Linked DNA regions of Homo sapiens: regions 2 and 3 are each linked to region 1. Evidence: promoter capture Hi-C in human tissues and cell types (Jung and others, 2019). All regions are on one chromosome and are shown on one strand. Each heading gives the region's core, a stretch centred on a gene start or on the middle of the fragment in contact. The rest is flanking DNA. Distances are from core to core; before and after follow the strand shown. Region 1 holds the start of CADM1 (cell adhesion molecule 1). Region 2 overlaps CADM1 (cell adhesion molecule 1). Region 3 overlaps CADM1 (cell adhesion molecule 1).

The links. The method cuts DNA at HindIII sites, captures the fragments that hold promoters and counts their contacts. A contact is called where the count stands out against the background at its distance.
Region 2: a fragment that was not itself captured here is called in contact with the fragment with the promoter of CADM1 in region 1 in 1 of the 25 tissues and cell types used here (hippocampus).
Region 3: a fragment that was not itself captured here is called in contact with the fragment with the promoter of CADM1 in region 1 in 1 of the 25 tissues and cell types used here (aorta).

What each region holds. Positions count from the first base shown.
Region 1 is chr11:115,501,531-115,506,236 of GRCh38, forward strand. CADM1 (cell adhesion molecule 1) reads right to left here and starts at 2,885. Exons shown (of 12, transcript NM_001301043.2): 1 at 2,741-2,885. The coding sequence starts at 2,864. RefSeq lists a silencer at 2,911-3,070. The HindIII fragment of the contact is 7,329 bases long and covers 1-4,706 here.
Region 2 is chr11:115,449,590-115,454,295 of GRCh38, forward strand. All of the region lies in intron 1 of CADM1 (cell adhesion molecule 1), which reads right to left. Among named protein-coding and RNA genes, the nearest start is that of CADM1, 52 kb to the right of the region's middle. The HindIII fragment of the contact is 7,902 bases long and covers 1-4,706 here.
Region 3 is chr11:115,464,796-115,469,501 of GRCh38, forward strand. All of the region lies in intron 1 of CADM1 (cell adhesion molecule 1), which reads right to left. Among named protein-coding and RNA genes, the nearest start is that of CADM1, 37 kb to the right of the region's middle. The HindIII fragment of the contact is 6,588 bases long and covers 1-4,706 here.

The DNA of each region.
Region 1 (4,706 bases), core at 1,635-4,134:
TAACACTGTGGAGTGAGCTTAAGCAAACCCATTTTTACTGCATTTCATTAACATCCATTTCATCCAAACATCACAGGAGAAATGAGAGGAGATTTTCTGCGGGGGATGGATGGCTTCAGTTACAGGAGAAAACAGAACCAGGACCCACGCACGATGGTCCTAATTCGCTTTCCCAGCAAGGATGTAAACGAAACAAGCCTAATGAAGTCAGATGCACCAACAGGTTTCTTTAACCCTGGGAGTGGGAACTGGAGGCCTCTGAGAAAGCTTAAACAGAACTGAGGAGGAAAAGTCCCTTGGTGCCCACCTGAAATTTACCCCTGGGGTATGGGACCCCGGAATGAGCCAAGACCTCCTCTCAAACTCACCACGAAATATATATATATGCATTAAGAGAAAAAAATTAAGAAAGTCATCTCATCTCCTCACTACAAATCATACCCAATTACTTTCTAATTTGAACACAATCTGATAACCAGCATACAAACAGGGATGTACACAAGAGCAAGAAGCTGCTTCCATGGTAACTGGCAACAGAATTTTCATGTAGCTTTGACATGCACGGTTGAGTTCCAGACCGCTCCTAAGTCAGCATATATCCCTCGCAGGGAAGGCAACTTCTCACCGCGAGATAGTTACAAATATAGTACCGTTGCTACTACCCGGTGCCTTCAATGAGCAGTCTTGACAGGGGAGGCATAATCTAATCCTACTTCTGCTGCCAAGCGTCATTGCACGACTCCCATTTTTAGTCAAAAAGCAATATCCCCGACCACAGCTTTCCACCGCCCCCCGGCTTTTTTTTTTTTTTTTTTTTTTTTTTTTGCAGCCAATACAAGTCTATTGTTGCCTCTATTATGCGCCAGTTACCGAGCCTTTACTCACGCTCACGTTTAACTGACACTGGCGCTTTTTACAATGCAGCAGCACGAGGGATCTCTTTCAGGAACATTTTATTGAACCCATCCAGTCAGAGGCATCACCTGAAATGAAGTTGTAACCACACCGGCATCGGCTGAACCCAATTATCTCGTAACTCATAAATTAAGAATTCACAGAGGAAAAACACATAAACAACATCCGGAGACAGTGGCATGGAGGAAAAAAACCCTCAGCGCTGGAATTGACGCTGCTGCCAGACGCCCCCCAATAGGTTTCCCAAGCCGAGCTCCTTTGCAAGCCTATTTTGGGGGCAAGCAGCCAACCCGGCGTCCCCCAAATCTCAAGCTAGCACCCCCACACATCCCCCGTCTCCTACAGCGTGTCTCCTGCGGTGTTTACATAACTGTGTGTCCTCTAGCGTGTAAACAAAAGGCACAGCCCAAGCGGAGAGGCGCCCCTGAAGCAGCACCGTGGCCCCAACGCTGTGCCCGCCCGGGCCTGGGGCTCCGCAGGTGGGGGCTGAGCTCTCGGCGTCCTCCGCCACTTGTTGCTCCCGGGTCCTGCAGCTCTGGAGCTGCAAGGAGGGGCTTTGCAGGCTCAGAGCCCTGCTGCATCCCCTCCTGCATCGCCGCTCGCACCCCGCGGCCCCGTGCCACTCGGTCCCGGCGCCCGCCTGGAGCCTGCAGCAGGGGCCAGAGGACGCCGCGCGGCTGCCAAGCGCGGCGAGGTGGCGGGAAGGGAGGCTGGGTGCAGCACAGCCGGCCTCTCCGCTGAGGAAGAGCTCCGGCTCCCTTTTGTTAGCAAAAGCAAACACTGCCCTCTTCTTTCCCGACCGCGCCAACGCGCCCGGCACACGGGCAGCCACACATCGGGCTCCAGCCGAGTGCTCGGTGTCTTCAGGGAAGGCACCGGGCGTGCAGAGCCGCCCCTGGGCAAATTCCCAAGACTGCTCTTCACGCAGGGAGCGCGCGGAGGCCCGCAGGGTGCCCGCCTGGCCGCAGAGGCCGCGACGCCCCCTCCGCCACCCTCGGGCCGCCGAAAGAACGGGCAGCCGGGAAATCCCGTGTCCCCACTCGTGGCAGAGGACGCTGTGGGGCGGGCGGGCTGCGGGCTCCCGGCGCCTTCCCGCAGAGGCGGCGACAGCGGCCGCCCCCCCCGCGGGGCCGGGCCGGGGAACTTTCCCCGCCTGGAGCCGGGCCAAAAAGACCCGCAGCAGAGCCGAGGGGGCGGAGGGCTGCGAACGGCCGGAGGGAAACACGAGAGGCGTGCAGTTTGGGGACAGGGGAGAAAGGCAGAGCGCGTTGGGGGAAGGGGCAGGGGAGATCAGACAAGTCTGGGGATGTCCTGGGGACCGGGGAGAAATCACGCCGCGGGCGGCTGGGAGTCAGCCACCAGGAGGCTTCGGGGATGGAGAACTGGGGGGGCCCTCTGGAGAGGTGGGGGCGAATGGACAGCCCTGGGAGGTGGGAGGACCTGCAAGTTACGGGGAGAACGGCGAGTTTAGAAGGGTCCGGAAGGGTTGAGGTTGTCTTTGAACCATCCCCTTCCCCCATGCTTTACAGCCCCCGGGCCCCCCATTCTCACTCCACTCTGCACCCCGCGCCAAGCCGGGGAGAGAAGGTGTGGGTGCAGCCATCCCTGGGGACTCTCATTCACACTTAGCCGGGCAGGGGAGAAGGGGCTCACAGATGCCCTCAGCCCCTTCCCTCTCAGCCCTGAGTTTCCTCTCCACACTCCCTCCGCTTCGGATGTAGGAAGTGGGGGGAGGTTGTCATGGAAACGTTTCCCCCCTCTGTGGCCAAGGCTACTGGGGTGCCTTCGGAGATTTAGGGGCCAACCGGTCGGTGCCCACACCTACCTGTGGGGATCAGTGCCGCGGCGGAGAAGAGCAACAGCAGAAGCCGGAGCCGGAGCCCGGGAGGCGCCGCCGCCGCCGCTGCCGCCGCACACTGGGATCCGCTCGGCAGCACTACACTCGCCATGTCGGGCACCTGCCTCAGACTGGCGGCGTTGGCTGCCTCCGGAGCCCGAGCGGACAGCTAATGAGATGCTAATGACATGCGCTGGAGGCGGAGTCCGGGCAGACCAATCACAGCGCCGCGAGCCCAACCCGGCTCTCGGAGGGCCTCGCTCCCTCCCCCACCCCGCCCCCTGGCGCTGGCGTTCGGCGGCGCGCCCGCGCCACCTAGGGGCGGGGCCAAGGGGAGGGGCGTATGCAAATATGTTTATGTTAAAATTCGGGTTTTGCTTTCCCCGGATCAAGGAAAAAGTGTTCTCCCGGGCGCCTGGCGTGCAAGGACTCGGGCTCCAGGGGGCGGGTCTAGCTTCTTGTACACCTTTATTAGGAATGTTTATAGCAATCGCTGTATCAGACCGACGACTGGAGAATCTCCCTTAAGAGGGTCCTCTGTCCCGCACACCGAGTGCATCTGGCCTAGCGAACCAGACGTTGCAAATTTCCGTCACTCACCTTGCACCGAAGGAATAGATCTTTGGGAACGGGGGCTGTGCGGGAGTGGAGAGTAAGAAGGCAGGTCCCCGGATTGACAAAACAATCTGGGAGAAGTGCATGCGTGCTTTGCACGTCCGGCGGAGCGGGAGAGCCCGCTCAACAGCCTAGCGGTAGACTCGGGGATAGTTGGAGAAGGCAGCCGTAGAGTCGGGTTCTGAGATTTTCCAGTCGGTCTTTTTGCGGCAGAATCTCGGGAAAGGTAGATCGAGGAGGGTATGCTCAGGCTCCTCCGCTTGTCGAGGGTCTCCTCCCTGGTTTTAATATATAGGTGTGTGTTGAATATATGTGTGAAATATTTGTAATATTAGATATTTAAGATTACACAACAACGGAAAAAATTAGTCAAGGCTTCAGGTGAAGAGCGGGGGTGGTGGGAGTTGGGGAGAGGGAGTGTGGTGAAGGCAGGGTCTGCCGTGTTCCTCCTTCGGGGCTCAAACCCTCTCACTCCTCCTCTGCGCCCCCAGCCCTTCCTAAGGAAGCTGGGGACCAACAGGTGCTCCGAGCTTCCCCTGTCTCTGGGAGAGCCTCTCCTGCTAAAGCGACTTGCATCTCCGGACTCACTCTCCCTCCCCGAAATTCTCTTTGCTTTCTTTTCAGCCAGGCAGCCGGCTCTCTTGTTTGTCTGCTTTTTAATTACTTATTTTCTTCCCCTCTAGAAGATCGTGTGCGCTCTGACCCTCTGTTGCTCAAGCATCAAATTGAAGGACGAGCCATATTAAGTGTAAAGGTTTATAATAATTTAAGTATTCATAGAATGCAGAACAATAAGATGTAGGAAATACAATTTGCATAATAAATATCAATATCACAACAGCTAAAACAAACCATGACAAATTATCTGTGGCTAAATGACCAAGAGATTACTGAATGTAAATTGCTAAGTCTGAGCTATAGTCTAGAAGAGCTGCGCCAAATGACTTCCCCAGCCTTCTGTCCTCATCTTGCTATAAAATAAATAAATAATACATATCAAAAAGGAAGTCATGATCTGCCAACCCACCAAATGAGTTACACTTAAAAACAGCCTCCTATTATCCATTATGCATAAACTAATTTCGAGACTGCCCGGTCTTCACAGCCCTGGATATTCTGCTCTGTAATTACAGGCCCCGATGCATGAACTGCAGGCAGTCCTTCAGAAGTGGGGAAAGCTCCAACAGGAGAACAGCACTACAGGAGACAGGAAACCATTGCCACGTGGGTGCCAGGATAATGCCCAGTCTGCAAAGTCCTACCCGTTCTTACTACCTCTGGCAGTGAGGTACCTGGGTCGGACCAAATAGAGAGCAAAGTTCCACCAAAATTGGAATAA
Region 2 (4,706 bases), core at 565-3,064, 53 kb before region 1:
AAGAATATGTAAGCTTCTTGTAATTTTCCCCTGTCAGTTTTTCAAATTTGCATTCTTAAAAGTTGCATCTACTGCTTTAGAAGGCAAGGTGCATTTCCCGACAATGCCACCGAAAATGCTTTCGGTGTTTTATACGAAAACATGTATTTCCCTAAGCCAATGTCTAACAGAGGAATATTTCAAAACAGCTAAACTTTATAGTTCCAAACATTCTAGAGAGTTCAACAGTCTCATTATATATTATAGTGACATACACATGTGCACACACATCCCTTAAGTATGCATTTTGCTAGATTTTATTTTTCATTTTATGCCAGGGAAAACACAATTATGCCATATCTCTTTATAGGAAATAAAACCTTTCCAAGAAAAACAAACCTGGCCATTTTTTTTTTCATTCATTCATTCCATTCATTCACTCATGGAATAACTCCTCACTCTAAAAACCTGCTAAAAACGCTGAATGGAAAAAAAGCTGCTTTCACCCCTCCCTATGTCTTTCCATACAACATGAGAATCAGGCATAGTGATTCTGTTTGACCCAGCAAGTTCAACCACCAAAAATAAGGTCCTTTGCCTTAAGGAGGGGTGTGACAGGTGCTAGTTTCAAGAAATAACTTTCAGCCTTCAGTGGAAGATACTGACAAGAGCACCAATCATAAAATACTGGTCCGCACAGGCCCATCTTTCTGTTTCCTTCACTTGCATCCAAATCCAAGTTTCCAGGCCCAGTCACTCCTACTTATCTTTCTACTTCCAGGCCTCCCACAGTTTTTAACTTCATTCATAGCCTTTATTCCTAGTTCTAAAACTGTGCTTCTATCTTAGTAATATGGTAGGAGGAAACCTGCTAAATGCATCCTTGATGCTGATGTGATCTTTCCAGTTATTGAACGTTTCATTGAATTTTACACTATACAACTTCAAATGCGGAAAGCAGCCAATTCATTTTGTTAACTGTTGTTCAGTATAGATAGCCAGCTCCATAACTATACACTTTGATTTGGTACATGAGAAAACGTATTTTTCATTACATCCCTTATCCTCCTAATGACATTTCCAAACAGGATTTTAAGAACTGTGAAGCAGAAATAAAATTATGCTCAAGTTCCAAAGTGATCTCATGGAATGGAAAATGGCTATCATTGCCAGTGAGTATTAACAGGATTCAAAGCTTGCAAGTTTCTAGTTCAGAAACATTTCTCAAATAACGATCATCTTTCAAATGCTCCTTACGTTACCAATCACAACAGAAATTCTATAAAAGAACTTAAGGGACTATGGTGAGATCTTTCCCCCACAACCCCAATTCCTTTATCCTGTATCCAGAGCTCACCATCAGCTTTGGTGTACCTCCTTCCTTTTTAATCATCAATCAAGGCTAACATTTCAGTTATCTGAATTTACACAAAAACCTAAAGGAGCCATTACATTGCTTCTGTAAAGCTCATTCTGTGGTGACTTTTAAATAGCTTTAAGAATAATCTGGAAATAAAAATACTGCTGTAGCAAGTTTTATGTCTTCTACACACATATGCTAGAGCAATTTCCTTCTCCCAGAGATAGAAGGGAGGAAAATGTCTAAACTTCATAATAAGCAGCCAATTATAGTCAACTGTCATCTTGGTTGTATTAATTATCTGCCTTGCCTAAGTTATCAAGACCTGAAAGAAGCCTAACAGCCACTTATTTTATATTACGATTGTTCCACTATGGAAAGGGCTGTAATTTTTTTGAGGGTCTTTCTGCATTGATACAGGTATGTAAGAATTCAGCACAATCCCAGGGTTTTACCACGTGTAGCCATTTGAAGATACCCGTTAAAGCCACAAGGCTAATTTCCCCTTCTTGATTATCCTACATTTGCTGAGGGCTCACAAAGTAGGAGGTCCCAGGCGAAAAAGGACATAGGTAGCAATTTGTGCACAAGTCCTAAACTTCAGTAAGTTGTATGAAACAAAAACATTATGACATTATTAAAGTAGCAGCAGCAACTACTGTTATTCATTCAAACATCCCCTACAGACCACTTAACAGGTATAGTGTAGTCATTGGCTTCAGTTTAAGACATGAGCAATCCCCACAGAGATTGTTCTTGAAGTAGAGACACCATGACCATGGAAATGGGGGAAACAGTTTTCCTTGCTAATTTAGGCATATAAGAGGAGGTTCCTAACCAGCCTGGGCTTCTTTCCTAACTACAGGGAAACAATCAGAGGAGTCAATATGTATAAAACACCGGTGGAATTAGGATTACACTCAGGAAACCATCAAAAGCCAGTCCCCTAGAGAGTCCTGGAAAGAGTCAGGAGAGCATCTGGGGCTGGAGGGGAAAAAAAAAAACTTTTTGGAAATTTCCTCAAGGCAAGAATGGAGGACCCAAAGCTGGCTGTAACTTCTGGAAGAGAAACCGAGGGAGAACTATTCAAGGAATGAATATGGATTAACTTACAAGATATGTCCTCCCAGGTCTAGAAGGTACTCCATTTACTTGTTAACTATCTTGACCACGTTAATTTCTTTTTTAAAATTTCTAAGGTTTGGCGGGGCCAGCGGGGTGGGGTGGTGGGGTGGGGGGGTGGGGGGGCTGGGAATCATCCACAAAGACAAGCTCACTTACACAAGAAATAAAGTGAAAATCACTGGTTTTGACACCCACTTGTTCAGATGACCCAAGATTTCCTCTGATTATGTGAACCAGACTTTTGTTCCAGTCTCCTAGCCCAGAACCTATAAAATCCATTTGAATTACAGCTCACCAACTGCACTTTAACCCGGAAACTAGAGGTGAAAGTCAAGTGCTTTATCTACTCAGACAAGCAGCTTCTCCCCAGATCAGAAGCGTTTTAATGAAATGAGACTTAAGTGAATTGTTGACATAGGCATTAAAAGTTGTCATTTAATATCAACAGTATGTTTGATTTGTACACAGTTATGAAATGTCATTCGGACCAGAGAGTTATATTGAGGTTTACCACATTATAGGGATGGATTTCCAGAGGGAAGTGAGCTGATCTGTCTCAAAATAAAATGTGTTTACATTAACACTTGGGGGAAACAGGCAGCCCTGCAAACATAGATGGAGAGATAAAAATAAGACCAGCACAAAACTCAACTTGGAAGAATAATAGAATAAAATATAATCTCTAGGCTCTGTGCATATGTAATATTTTACTATACTTTTTTTCCACCTTTTAAGAGATAAAGTACAAAGTTTACATTGGTGAGAAATATCACTTCTGGGTAAAATCTATTATACTTTGGTCTCCAAAATAATTTTTAAGGAGAAAGGGTGGGAGTGATTGACATGGGGATGGAAGAAAATACTCAGGAGGTATCATTGCTTTCTTGAAAGAAAAGCCAAACCTATAAGCATGTAATGCTTTGCAGTATAAATATATATAATTAGATAAATTTTATCTAACTAACCAGGTAGATAAAATTACATTACTAGTTAGTCTAGGTGTGATAGAAACATTCTGGCCTCATAGAAAAGGAAGCACTCGACCAGGTGCAGTGGCTCATGCCTACAATCCTAGCACTTTGGGAGACTGAGGCAGGCAGACCGCTTGAGCCCAGGGGTATGAGACCAACCTAGGCAACATGATAAAACTCCATCTCTACAAAATTTACAAAAATTAGTCGGGTGTGGTGGTGCATGCCTGTAGTCTTAGCTACTTGGGAGATGGATTGCTTGAGCCTGGGAGCTCATGGCTGCAGTGAGCCAAGATCAAGGCTGCAGTCCAGCTTGAGTGACAAGAGTGAAACCCTATACCCCCCTCGCCCCCAAAAAAAACCAAAAAAAAAAAACAAGAAAAGAAAAGAAACAGCAGCACTTATCACGGGCTATGTGCCTTGAACTGTTTTCTCCAGAAGTGGCTATGAGTTAGGCCAAATAACTTACTTGTTGTCATTGTTTTTGTTTTTGAGACAGAGTCTTGCTCTGTCACCCAGGCTGGAGTGCAGTGACAGGATCTCGGCTCACTAAAACCTCCACCTCCCAGGATCAAGTGATTCTCCTGCCTCGGCCTCCAGAGTAGCTGGAACTACAGGCATGCCCCAACACACCCAGCTAATTTTTGTATTTTTAGTAGACACGGGGTTTTACCATGTTGGCCAGGCTGGGCTCAAACTCTTGAGCTCAAGTGATCTGCCCACCTCGCCCTCCCAAAACTTACTTTCTTATCACAAATCCAAGTCAAAGAGGTAGAGCCTCATCAAGTATTTCCTGCCATGCTACAACCTAAAAAATGAAATTTAAACACTGTAATAATTCCTTAGTGTCAAGATTAACTGACTCAGCTAAACAAGCACTGGCACTTTTGGGAATGGATTCACTTATAAGATATATCCTTCTAGGTCTAGAAGGTCCTCCATTTGCTTTATGCCTTATCATTTGACATGAGAATAGAGATGAAAGAGAAGTTCATTCATTGGTCATTTTTTCTAAAATGTTCTTTAAAAAAAAAATAAAACAAAACAAAAAAAAAACAAAGCCTTGCCTCTTCATGGATTTGGAAGCAAAATTAACAAAGGTCTCTCTTTTGGAGAGTCTAAGTCTAAGCAATTAAAGTTGACTCTAAGGAAAACTTGAAGGGAGCTCTTGCAGCATAAAAAAAAAGTGATGAGCTTTTGTTTACAACAGATCTTAATTCTTTATCTTTCACTTGAGGAAGCTGTAAGGTCTTTGGCACTTGGCTAAAAAT
Region 3 (4,706 bases), core at 1,583-4,082, 37 kb before region 1:
TTATATGTAATACAGCCAGAAGCTTTGAACCAACAATACCAGATCACTTAAAAGATGTTGCTCAGTTATTCTAGAACATTCTATGCCAGTATCAGCATCCTTTATCGATCTCCTAATCTGGTACCATGTTTTCAAGAAATTTCCAGGAGGCACTCCTATCTACTGGGCATCAAGTTTACAGCATTGTTGGGCTGACCCAGAGGAATGCTATTTAAAATATACACAACCTGTACAACCACTTATCTGGGCATCTAGGCAAATCTGATGCTAATGAGGAAGCTGAAAAGAACAGGTTGCTTGCCATGTACCTAGATTTCATTAGCATTATACAGACTCCTGCATCATATTATTTTTATTGTGAAATAATTAGAGCCGTTGATCTCTGCCTATGAGTGCTACTACCTCAGCATACTACATCCGGGCTTGAAGAAAAAGACATTTTGATAACAGTCAAAGAGAAAAACAAGATTACTGCAGCAAGATTACCCAATAACTTACTGCATGAATTTGGGCTAGTCTCATTATATCCTAGATCCAAAAAGCTCCATATGATGAACTTACTGGTTCTAGATAGCTCTGTTCTGAGTGACATGAGAGGTGTTTAGTAAACTTACAATCAGTAGAAATAAGATGTCTAGTTAATGTCTTGGCATATGACACCCACAACCTTTCCCCAGGTATTAAAAGAAGGAAATAAATGTATTTAGGTTACAATAGCTAACACTAATAGAGCCCTTACCAAGTACCTTCTACCATGAAAAGCATATAGATATAAAGATAGTCCCATGACCTCATGAGATAGATATTATTATCCCCATTTTACAGACAAGAAAACGAAGGTTCAGGCAGGTTAGGTTACTTGCACAAAGTCGCACAGTCGATATCAGAAAAAGACAGATTTTAATCCTGAAGAGACTTACTTCAGAATCTGCCTCCCTTAGATTTTTTTTCCCCAAGCATTCAATTTTGATGAAACAGCCTCTATAACTTTTTACAGGCAGGAAAAGTAGAACCAGTGTTGTAAGTTTTAACCTGGGAATTTGGAATGCCTTTGCCTAGGTTTTTCTTAATGTTTTGATGAGCACCACTGGCTTTAATTCTATAATAGAATTCTGCTAAAATGGATAACAAGTAATTTACAGACTTCTAGTTCAGAGTGAGCAACAAACATGACTTCCATGTATTCAACCCATAATGGATTATAAGACTCCAGCAATGTGACTATGATTTTCAGAGAATGTTCATTTAGCCATACAGGTAATTAGTAATTTGTTATTTAGTTTCTGGTAAAGACATGATGAGCCAAAAAAGCTATGAAAAAAAAACTTCCACCATTTCCCCCACCCTGTGGCACCCCAAAATCAAAACTGCAATGACTTGTAGCATCGTAAGTCTGCAACAGTTCCTGTCCACCAGAGTGAATGAAGGCAGAACTAGTTTGACATTTCCTGCTGGCTGTGATTAGAGCATCTTTTAATGAAGCTCACTTCAAATCATTTTAAATCCATTTGCTCATGTCAACATCAATGTACTCAGCATTATCTACCAATTAGTAAACCGGAAAATATTCTTTAGATAATCTGAAATCTCAGTAAAATATTCAGCATGCCATTCATTTACTACAAACTGCCCTGTAAAAACAAATTAGCAAAACCAGCTGTCACAGGACAACATAAACATCCATTAATACAACCCAACTACTTCAGTCGCTGGCTAAGGTTTTTCAGGAAAGAGAAAACATGGTGGAAATATAAATCAACAAGACTTTCAAATGTTTAGCACGTGTCTTCAGAATAACATGTTGCACCAATATTAAGGTGTGCATTTACCTTCCCCATGTGTGAGATCAAATTTGGACGAGGAAGAAAAGGGTTAAATGAAACACTCTTCAAAATTCTTTCAATTAGGATCTCGAGTTTTTGTGCTGCAATAAGTCTAGAAGGCCAAAAGAGTTCTAACATTTGTCATGCTTCATAAGGATCAGAAATATCAAAGAGCATGAAAGCTGACCAAATATGAATATGATTATGATTATGCAAAGGAAAATCAATTGAATCGTAGGTCTCAGATTTTGCACAACCCACTTATATACACTGCGGAAAGCACCACCCGAACTTACAGGAAACCTGTGAGTACATCACTTACCAGCCAACATTGACTCGTCCTTTCCACAAATCAGCCTGACAAAATTCTATAATTTAAATATGGCAATATTTCAATAGCCACCTTCCACTTAGGACCCTTTCAGTATTTTTCATTTTAATGCATTAGTTATAAATAAACTGCGGCAGCACCTGTTAAGAGGGATTAAAAATGCTTTTATATTATGAGAGACCGGGTGAGAGCTTGTTCTCTGATGAAGACACTCATGATATGCACAAGACGTCTGTAGTGGAGGAGCAGTATTCTTCAACAATGATTTCGATTTAAGAATCTAAATTAGGCTTCAGTCACTGATGACTACTTCTACCTTCTAAACGATAGGGAACACTTCAGAGTGGGTACCTAACACAAAAACTGCCAATCATGAACTGGAATGAGCTCGAATACGCAAACCCAACTGATTGAAGATAGAAAGGCTTGAAGGTGCAAGGCTGCTCTTTCCTCAGAAGAGCTATGATCCCAAAATGATGGATTAAAGTACCAGAACCAGTACACAAGATGACCACAACAGTTTCACAAAATATTTCCTAAATGCTCATGGGGCCACCCAACTATGAAGCTGTTCAATTTCCAGGACATTTCCATTCTGAGATGCACTAGGCATATTAAGGCATAAAGAAATAAATACACTTGAAAACAGGTGGCGTGTCCCTCAGCCCCTCCTCAAAGGCTGTGTTGAGCATGGAAAAGAGAGAAGCCGTAACAGGGACCACTTAGGCTAAGACCATTGTAATTTTAAAATTGTCTCAAAGGAGAAAAGAAATCTACAATACTCTCATCCTATTCTGAGTGAATGAGTTTACAGGGTTTTCTCCTTACTCTTCAGCAAGCCAAGGCAAACGCCTAAGGACCTTTAAACAAAAGAAAAAAAATCCAAAGAACTTTAAAAATTTTTTAAATCACATACCCAGTCACATCCATACATCCTCTGGAGAGAAGTCATAAAGTTGTCTAAAGTTTACATTTCTCTTCTTAACATTAATTATTAAGAAAAGCATTTCATCTTGATTATAGCCACCAATAAAAGTGAATATATTCTATAAGTACAAAATTTCATAACCAGGTGCTACACTCAGCTTACGGTTTGCATATAGAAAAAGATGTAATAAAACAAAAGCATTCTGTATCTGGTATCTACAAGAAAGATAAGTAAACTGTAATGATAATTTACAATTTTGCACATTTTAATTTCCTACTTCCAGTGTTTACCAAAATTTTATTTAACAGTAAAATAGATTTTGTGAAATAGATACATGTTCATTGGGGGAAAAAATCAAGACACAGAAAATTACAAAGAAGAAAAACTGTGAGCATCACAATCTCAGTCTTATATTCCCAGCACCACGTTACATGAGATGAGACGGGTGCACTGGAAAGAAAAAAGCTTGAAGATAGTAGATTTGAAGCCTTCTCCAAAATAATGAAGACTCTCCTAGAACAGGTGAGTTGTGAAATCCAGAAGAAAAGAACAGACAAAACTTCATGAATAGGATATTTGTTAAAATCCTAAAAGACTTCAATTTTAAAGAAAGGAATTAACAACAGTTTCATGAAAATGGCCAAGGTACCTTATGTCTTACAGGGGTGTGTCTGTGTGAGTGCTGTGCATGTGTTTTTTAAGAAAGGCAAAAGGGTCTATGGATAATGGAAGGGGGACAGCACCTTACTGTAGTTTTGTGGGTTTTGAGTTTTTAGAAAGAGAAATCATACAGGCATGCTCCAAATTTTCATTTATCCCAAGGTTAGTAAATGAACATAAGTCTACAGGAAAACCCAGACTAGGGCATGATACCTGTATTAGTCTGTTCTCATGCTAATAATAAAGACATACCTGAGACTAGGTAATTTATAAAGAAAAAGAGGTATAATGGACTAACAGCTCCACATGGCCAGGGAGGCCTCACAATCATGGCAGAAGGCAAAGGAGGAGCAAAGTTACGTCCTACATGCAGCAGGCAAGAGGGCATGTGCAGGCAAACTCCCCTTTATAAAACCATCAGATGTCATGAGATTTATTCACTATTAAAAGAACAGTACAGAAAAAAACCCACCCCCATGATTAAATTACCTCCCACCGGGTCCCTCCCACAACACGTGGAAATTATGAGAGCTACAGTTCAAGATGAGATTTAGGTGGGGACACAGCCACACCACATCAATACCTAAGATGCAAAATATACATTCTGCACTATTGAACTCTTATAGAAGCTCTGATTTCTACTTCTCTAATTATAAATATGGCTAAGTATACTCACCTTTCATATAAAGCACTTCAGCCACTCCTCTATAAAAAATAATAATAGCTGACATTTACCTACTTACCTAGCACCTTCTATGTCCCAGGCATTGTTCTAATAGTTTTACATATATTAACTCATTTTAATACAACAACTCTATGAGGTGGATGCCATTATCCTTCCCCATTTTATAAATGGAAAGACTGAGGCTCAAAGAGATTGAACAACCTGACTGAGATCATGTAGAAAGGAAGTGGCAGAATCAAGGTGTGAAACCAGGTGGTCAGTCTCTTGTTCCACATAAAT